Regions from separate parts of the Homo sapiens genome. Here region 2 is linked to region 1. The links are contacts of gene promoters, found by promoter capture Hi-C in blood cells and fetal thymus (Javierre and others, 2016). All regions are on one chromosome and are shown on one strand. Each heading gives the region's core, a stretch centred on a gene start or on the middle of the fragment in contact. The rest is flanking DNA. Distances are from core to core; before and after follow the strand shown.

Region 1 (4,477 bases), core at 1,785-4,284:
AGTGGCTAAACTCTTAATTTCTCTGGTTTCTCTGGGTCAGGAATTCAGAAGCAGCTTCACTGGGCAGTTTTGATTTAGTGCCTAATGCGGTTGCAATTAGAAGCCACTGAGGCTACAGTCATCTGAAGGCTTGGCTGAGGCTGGCTGATTCACCTCCAAGATGGCTCACTCACAGAGCTGACAAGCCGATGCTGGCTGTTGGCAAGAGGCCTTAGTTTCTCTCCACATGGTTGCCTGAGTGAATTCATGACATGGCTGGCTTTCACCAGAGCAAATAATCCAAGCATGCCAGTCAACAGCATCCTTTTATGTTCTAGCCTCATAAATCACACTTCAGCCATATTCTATTGGTCACACAGAACAACCTGTTTCATTGTGGGAGAAGACCACACAACAGGATTAATACCGGAAGGCAAGGATCATCATGGCCATCTTACAAGCTGGCTAATACAGATGCATGGAAGTGCTTTAAACTGAAAAATGCTTTGCAAATGTGTAATGCTATTTTCTTTTTTTTTCTTTTGGTTCAAAGTGCTCAAATGATATTTTATATATACAGTATCTCACTGTCTCAGAATATCATCTAAACGCTGTCTTCATTATCCTATTTTAAATGTCCCAGAATGGGAATTTACTTGTCAGCAGCACGCTGTAATACACTGATTATCAACTCATACGCCATGGCACACTTGGGGACCTCAAGTCTCACAACGGCATCATCAGATTTAGCTCACTAGCTTCTCTCTCTCTCTTTTCTTCCTTTCTTCCCTTCTTTCTTTCTTTTGACGGAGTTTTCACTCTTGTTGCCCAGGCTGGAGTCCAATGGTGCTATCTCTGCTCACTGCAACCTCCGCCTCGCGGGTTCAAGTGATTCTTCTGCCTCAGCCTCCCTAGTAGCTGGGATTACAGGTGCCTGCCACCACACCCAACTAATTTTTGTATTTTTAGTGGAGATGGGGTTTCACCATGTTGGCCAGGCTGGTTTGGAACTCCTGACTTAAGGTGATCCACCTGCCTCGGCATCCCAAAGTGCTGGATTACAGGTGTGAGCCACTGCACCTGCCGCTCACTAGCTTATTTCTACAAGTGAGGTTAAATTATTATTTCAATGATACCTGTCAGAAGAAACTATGACAACAGCATCACTAGGTATGACTTGCCTCAAGAGAGATGGTGTCTTTTCTGCAATGTGTGAGTTTTGCCTAGACCCAAGTAATGACAAGGGACTGAAAGATAATGGCTAACATATAGTAAACACTTAACTGTCAAACATTATTCTAAGGGCTTTGCAGGTGTGAGGTCATTTAAGCCTTGGAACAATCCTTTGAGTAGATCCTATTAGGGATGAAGAAACTGGAAACAAAGTAAGTAATTTGCCCTAGTTGTATCTAGTGGCTGAATACTGATAGGGCCACTATTCAAATGCAAGCAGTCTGATTCCAGAGTTAAAAAAAATAACTAAATTATTGGCCTTGGTATTTTGCTACTTTCTTCAACATATCTCTGAAACTTAGGATTTTCAACTCTTAGAAATAACAAATATAGGCTGGGCGCAGTGGCTTACACTTACAAATACCAGCACTTTGGGAGGCCGAGGAGGGTGGATCACCTGAGGTCAGGAGATTGAGACCAGCCTGGCCAACAAGGTGAAACCCCGTCTCTACTAAAAATACAAAAATTAGCTGGGTGTGGTGGAGCAGGCCAGTAATCCCAGCTAATCGGGAAGCTGAGGCAGGAGAATCGCTTGAACCCAGGAGGCAGAGGTTGCAGTGAGCTCAGATCGGGCCAGCGTACTCCAGCCTGAGCAACAGAGTGAGACTGTCTCAAAAACAAACAAACAAACAAAGGCAGGGGGAGGGGGGCACATTTCCATGTTGACAGCTGCTCTGGCTCAGAAACTTTTAATTATCCACTAGTAGAGCCATCTGGATTACTGCAATAGTTCTCTAATAGGCCTTCTTTCTTTTTCTTGTCCCTCAAAATCTATAATATAGTCTCCCAACAGCAAGAGTGAACCTTTTAAAAGTGAGTCAGGTCATATCACTTGTCTGCTCCAATCCCTCCAGTGGGTTTTCAGTGATGACTTTCTTGTACCACCCTATTTAAAACCTCCATCCCTGCCCCTGCCCTGATTTGTTATCCTTTATCTGCTTTATTATCTCTATAGCACTTATCACCTATGTATCATAACACATATTTGACTTGTTTTTTTATCTCCTCCCATTGGAAGGCAGGGATCTTTGCTCCCTGCTATCTCAGATTCTACAATGGTGCTTGGCACATAGATAACACTCAATATCAGCATCCTAAGAGAGAGAAAAATGAAAAAGGAAAAGCACTCAATATGTTTTTGAATAAATGAATTAGTGTGTTTGTTATGACAATTTATGATAATCAAGGGGTTGGGTACTCATTACTGCTAAGTTAATTGAGCACTGTCTCAATTAATTGAGTTAATGTCTAAGCTTTCTGCATGTTTCATTTAATACCCACAATCTCCTGTGATGTAGTTCATTATTTTTTCCATTTTACCGAGTAGAAAACTGAGGACTAGAAGCTGATTCCCACAGCACGTTTCAGTTGAGTTGGATTTTGTTTTCCTGGGCCTGCTTCTTCATAAAGGGACTGGACTAAGAATACTCTTGACCAGCCCGTAAGAACTTGGCACTCGTCTCAGTAATCTGAGATAGCAGGGTTTGGCGTCCATAGCAACCACGGCGACAGGACGCGCTCGAGCAAGAACCAAAAAGCGAGAACAGGTACAAGGCCAAACTTTCTACATTCACAGACACCTACCAAACCCCGAACATGGAACACCAAATTAGAACGCTGACCAGTTCCTGGTAATGTAGAAAACACCCAAGTTAAAACGGCAACAGAGTGACACAGCAGCCATTGAAGATGCCCCACTTCAGGCACCGACAGGCGTCACGTGACGGGTGGGGAACGCCAACCGCCTGGGCCTAGCGCAGCTTCCTCCGCCCACCACGGAAGTGAGGCGGGGATACTAAAGCGACGGAGCCCGGTGGACGGAAGTGGGTGTTGGAGGCTTTAAGGTAGCTTTAAATTCGTGTTGTCCTGGGAGCTCGCCCTTTTCGGCTGGAGTCGGGCTTTACGGCGCCGGATGGCTCTGGACGTGAAGTCTCGGGCAAAGCGTTATGAGAAGCTGGACTTCCTTGGGGAGGGACAGGTGAGGCTCTCTGGAAGGACGGGGAGGGCCCCAAGCGGACAGCCCCGCGCCGCCTCCACCTTTGCGGGTTTTCCCGTGGAGGCCAGAGGTCTGGCTTGGCTGCTCGTTCTCGTTGGGGGAAACCGTCCAGACGCACTTGCTGCCCATTCTTTACATCCTGGGGGTGAATCCCTGAGGGGCCTCTCCTTGCTGAAGAGTAGCCTGGAGCTGGACGGAGACTGACCCGCCACGTTTCCAGCCGCCGCGAGTCTGCTCAGGAACTCTGGGCTCTTTGCTTCGCGAAATGTAAAAATGCAAAAAGGCAAACACAAAAACTCCCATAAACTTATGTTATTTCTATTTTTCTTTCTAGTTTGCCACCGTTTACAAGGCCAGAGATAAGAACACCAACCAAATTGTCGCCATTAAGAAAGTGAGTTACCTTTTTATGTTGTTTTTAAGTCTCCTTGAAGATGTCTGTATTATTAATTGACTGATAGCCATTTTATTAGTCTTGACCATACTCTGATAATGAGTTACTCATGTCATTTTCAGAGACAAAATAATTAATTAGTGCTTTGTGTTCCCAAACGGAACTCTAGGGTTGAACCCGTTTTAATTTCTATTGAAATGAAGAAGAAGCTGTATGTTATTTTTACTGCATAAATTCATATGTTGTGGGCAAGTACTGCCCATCTTTTCGGTCCTCAGAACTATTGGATACCATGATCTTTCTAGGTCACTGTTTATACCTCACCTGCATCCACTCAGTGTGTCGTATCTGTATTTTCTGTGTACGGATTTACCATGAAAGACTTTCACTAGCATGAACAACATTGATGTGAGGTCTAAAATGAGTTCAGTAGCTTCTTATATTCATTCAAAAGACCTGGGTCGGATTCAGTAGCTTCTTATATTCATTCAAAAGACTTGGGTCGGGCCAGCCGCGGTGGCTCACGCCTGTAATCCCAGCACTTTGGGAGGCCGAGGTGGGCGGATCACTTGGGGTCAAGAGATCCAGACCATCCTGGCCAACATGGTGAAACCCTGTCTCTACTAAAAATACAAATATTAGCTGGGTGTGGTGGCACCTGTCTGTAATCCCAGCTACTCGGGAGGCTGAGGCAGGAGAATCACTTGAACCTGGGAGGTGGAGGTTGTAATGAGCCGAGATGGTGCCACTGTGCTCCAGCCTGGTGACAGAGGGAGACTCCATCTTAAAAAAAAAAAAAAAAAGATTTGGGTCATAATTACATAACTCACGTTCACCTACATTGTTTCTTTTAACCTTCAAAACAATCTATAAAG
Region 2 (4,612 bases), core at 2,078-4,577, 290 kb after region 1:
ATAACTTCTCCCACATTATTGTGGTCTTTCATCTTTGTCTACAGTGTTTTTTTGTTTGTTTTAAGAGAGAGGGTCTCACTATGTTACCCAGGCTCGTTTTGAACTCCTGGCCTCAAGTGATCCTTGTGCCTTGGCCTCCCAAAGTGTTGGGATTGTAGGCATTTGCCACCATGCCCAGACTTCTTATTTTTTTATGTACTTATATTTCCTGTCTCTTTATGGCCTCTACATATCTTTGTTCCTAGAGAGTTTTACACCCCCTTCAAGGTTTAAATAATACCCTCCTGTAGTTTCGTTGGTATTTTAAAGTTTTATTTTTTTTACCCCATGTGTACTAAATGTGTGCAGAGGGTTGAGTTAAACATATGTCAGTCCTTGGTACATTTTAACATCCTTGATTGGTGTAATGTTCCTCTCTCATATTTCTTGTTTTTATTTTCGCCCAACCTAGACCTTTAAGATCACCAGAAGCTTTAGACCACCAGAAACATATTTTTTTAAACAGCTTTATTGAGGTACAATTTATATACCATACATTGTCATCACCCATTAAAAATTTACAGTGATTTTTAGCAAACTTAGAAGTGTCGTGCACCCAATCCAGTTTTTGTGTTTTTGTTTTTGTTTTTAACATCCAGGATATACACTGGACCACCCCCCTTGTTTTTTAAGATAAATGTTTCATTTTAGAATAGTTTTATTAATAGATTTACAGAAAAGTTGCAATTATAGTATGATGGATTTCTGTATACCACGGCACTCAGTTTTCCCTTTTATTTTTTTTTTTCTTGAGGCAAGGTCTCACTCTGTTGCCCAGGCTGGAGTGCAATGGCGCAATCATAGCTTACTACAGCCTTGACTGCTGGGCTCAAGCAGTCCTCCCACCTCAGCCTCCCAAGTAGCTGGGACTACAGACATGTGCCGCTATGCCTGGCTGACTTTTTTTTTTTTAAAGTAGAGACAGAGTTCGCTATGTCGCCCAGGCTATTCTTGAACTCCTGAACTCATGCAGTTCTCCTGCCTTGGCCTCCCAAACTGCTGGGATTACAGGTGTGAGCCACTACCCACAGTGCAGCTAGTTGTCCCTATTGTTAACATCCTACATTAGTGTGGTGCATTTGTCACCACTAATGGACCAATATTGATATTTACTATTTACCAAATGTCATAACTTTATTCATATTGAGATGCTTGTTTTTTATTATAGTATGAGATAAACACTAACTTAATTTTGTTCCCAAATGGTCAACTTGAATAATACTGAAATTGTGTTTTCTGAAATTTTACAATTTTTGGTGAAAGTTGAGTCTTTTGATTATTCTTCCTTTTTTGAACACATTTTGGCCAGCATAATTGTGTAAAAGGGGGCTATTAAGCCATTTTCTAACAGTATATGATAATATTTTTAGAGAATAGACAAAATTGATGTTTACGTTAAATTTGGTTTTATATTAACAGAAAGCATTTTCATCCACATGCCTGGGGTCACATATGGGTGACAAAGCCAGGATTAGAACCCTAACTGAGCATTTCCATGCCAGTAGATTCTTAGGAAAAACCTTAATGATTACCTTTTTTTTTTTTTTTAATTATTTTTTGAGATGAAGTCTTGCTCTGTCACACAGGCTAGAGTGCAGTGGCATGATCTCGGCTCACTGCAACCTCCACCTCCCGGGTTCAAGCGATTCTCCTGCCTCAGCCTCCTAAGTAGCTGGGATTACAGGCATGTGTCACCACACCCAGCTAATTTTTGTATTTTTAGTAGACATGGGGTTTTGCCACGTTGGCCAGGCTGGTCTCAAACTCCTGACCTCAGGTGATCCACCCGCCTCAGCCTCCCAAAGTGCTGGGGTTACAGGTGTAAGCCACCGTGCCCGGCCAATGATTACCTTTTTAAAAACTGGACTTTAAGGCTGAGCACAGTGGCTGACACTTGTAATCCCAGCACTTTGGGAGACCAAGGTGCGTAGATCAGTTGAGGTCAGGAGTTTGAGACCATCCTGGCCAACATGGTGAAACCCTGTCTCTACTGAAAATACAAAAATTAGCTGGGCCTGGTGGCGCATGCCTGTAGTCCCAGCTACTCTGGAGGCTGAGGTGGGAAATCACCTGAACCTGGGAGGTGGAGGTTGCAGTGAGCCGAGATGTGCCACTGCACTTCAGGCTGGGTGACAAAGTGAGACTCTGTCTCTAAAAACAAAAACTGGACTTCAGGTGCACAGAAATAGATTAATTCAATTCTTAGTTTATGACATTATCACCTTTAGTCCATGCATAGCATTCCTGGTACATTTATTGTTTCATAATGAACACCTGCAGATCTACCATCCCACCTAATAATTACAATACATTACTAAGTTACATTATACATTTTTTACTCTCTCATCTACTTGCTTCTACCTGCCCCCAGAGGTAGCCTATCTAGAATTTTGAGTTTATTATAATTTGCTTTTTAAGTTTTTACCTGCATACATGTATAACTTAGCAACATGATTTTGTTTTGGGTGTTTTTTAACTTTGTAGAAGGTGTACCTGCATGTAGTGTCTTGGCATTTGCCTTTTTACGCAGAGTTAGGTTATAGATTAATACATGTTGATGGAGTTGAAGTCCATCTGATGTCGCCATTGTCTGGTCCTCTATTTTATCACATTTCACAGCAGTTTATCCAGTTTCCTTTTAATGGGGTTTTGGATTATTAAGACCATTACAACTGCCATGAACATTTTTATTTTTTATTTATTTATTTTTAAGATAGTGTCTTGCTCTGTTGCCTGGGCTGGAATGTAGTGGCATGATCTTGGCTCACTGTAACCTCCGCCTCCCGGGTTCAAGCAATTTTCCCACTTCAGCCTCCCAAGTAGCTGGGATTATAGGCGTATGCCACCACACCTGGCTAATTTTTGTATTTTTAGTAGAGACAGGGTTTTGCCATGTTGGCCAGGCTGGTCTCAAACTCCTGACCTCAAGTGATCCACCTGCCTTGGCCTCCCAAAGTTCTGGGATTACAGGTGTGAGTGTAATCCCGTGAATCCCGCCTGGCCCCATGAACATTTTTAAATCACCTATACTTGTGAACATTTCTCTTGGCTATGTACCTAAGAGTGGAACTTCTGGGATGCAGCGTTTGTGAGTGTACATTTCTTTCTTTTCTTTTCTTTTTTTTTTTGAGACAGGGTCTCGCTCTGTCACCCAGGCTGGAGTGCAGTGGTGCGATCTCGGCTCACTGCGAGCTCCACCTCCCGGGTTGACGCCATTCTCCTGCCTCAGCCTCCTGAGTAGCTGGGACTACAGGTGCCCGCCACCACACCCAGCTAATTTTTTGTATTTTTAGTCTAGACGGGGTTTCGCCATGTTAGCCAGGATGGTCTCGATCTCCTGACCTCATGATCCGCCCGCCTCAGCCTCCCAAAGTGCTGGGATTACAGGCGTGAGCCACCGTGCCTGGCCTGTGAGTGTACATTTCTATAAGACAATGTCAAATTATTTTTCATATATAATCTAAACCAGCAACTCTTGGTGGTGTTAGACTTTATAATATTTTCCAGTCAAACGTGTAAAAGTGTATCAGTGTTGTCTTGGTTTATATTTCTTCTGAACATGTCATGTTTATTGGCCTAATGTGTTTTCTCTTCTACTTTTTACCTTTTGGCAATTGCTGAGGTGGCAAAACTCAACCAGTTTCTCTGATACTCTTGATTTTTATAAGAGTTTTTATGGGGTAAAGGTCAACTTTTTATGAGGCATAGTCCTGAGGAAGTATAGTCTATTGCGTGATCATTAGTGTCCTTTTCACAAATGACTAACCCTTTATAGATATGACAAGCCAAAGTGCCTTCTCTCCTTTAGGGAAAGATGTGTTCCTTCCCTTTTCCATTGTGTTGATGGTATGATAGAGGTCCTTCTCAGGGCTGAGAATCAACTAATGTTTCCACTGTGATAAAAGTAGGTACCCTCAGCTGTTCTCATGCCGAGTGAACCTTCTCACCGTTTTTCTAGGTTATTTTATGACACCTGGACCAGAAAACCAGGCACTGTCAGGTTTGAGCATCACTGTAGGCAAAAGAGACCCTTAACTTGTAGGTCTTTACGAGGTACAGTGGTCTGCAACATAGAAGAGAATTGTGTCTACGTCAGTAGTTCTCAAACTTTTGCAGGCAACAGAATCACCTGGAGGGCTCATTGAAACAGCCCACTCACTCCCACCCTGGAGTTTATGATGTGTGCGCTAGGCCTGGCTGGGGCCTAGGTCGGTAATATTAATGTAGCTGGTCTGGAGACCATATTTCGAGAACCACTATTTTATAGATTCAAGCTGCAACCATTAAACTGTAAGCAAGTTATCATTACATCATGGCATACTTGGAAAATGGTGACTTAGTACAAAATACTGGAGTAAACTGAGGGGGATCTGGAACTGCAGATGATTGGCTCACAGGCTGGGCGACCAAAGACATCCTGGCACACCTGTTGAAAAACTCTGGCATGAGGTACAGGTATATTTAACAGTCTTCACAGGGATTTTTGTTTAAGTAAGGGGCCTTGAATGAGATCATTGGTAAGCCTCACTGAGTACAAGGTTTTTCTACCTCATCCCCTTCCAGAGCTCTAATA

Evidence for each region. Contacts are between HindIII fragments. The CHiCAGO score rates a contact against its expected background, and 5 or more counts as called.
Region 2: a fragment that was not itself captured here is called in contact with the fragment with the promoter of CDK7 in region 1 in 1 of 17 cell types (neutrophils); the score reaches 5.7 in neutrophils.

What each region holds. Positions count from the first base shown.
Region 1 is chr5:69,231,852-69,236,328 of GRCh38, forward strand. It overlaps CDK7 (cyclin dependent kinase 7), which reads left to right and starts at 3,035. Exons shown (of 12, transcript NM_001799.4): 1 at 3,035-3,190; 2 at 3,543-3,602. The coding sequence starts at 3,125. RefSeq lists an enhancer at 2,757-3,285. The HindIII fragment of the contact is 18,686 bases long and covers 2,464-4,477 here.
Region 2 is chr5:69,521,956-69,526,567 of GRCh38, forward strand. All of the region lies in intron 4 of OCLN (occludin), which reads left to right. Among named protein-coding and RNA genes, the nearest start is that of SNORD13B-1, 15 kb to the right of the region's middle. The HindIII fragment of the contact is 5,716 bases long and covers 470-4,612 here.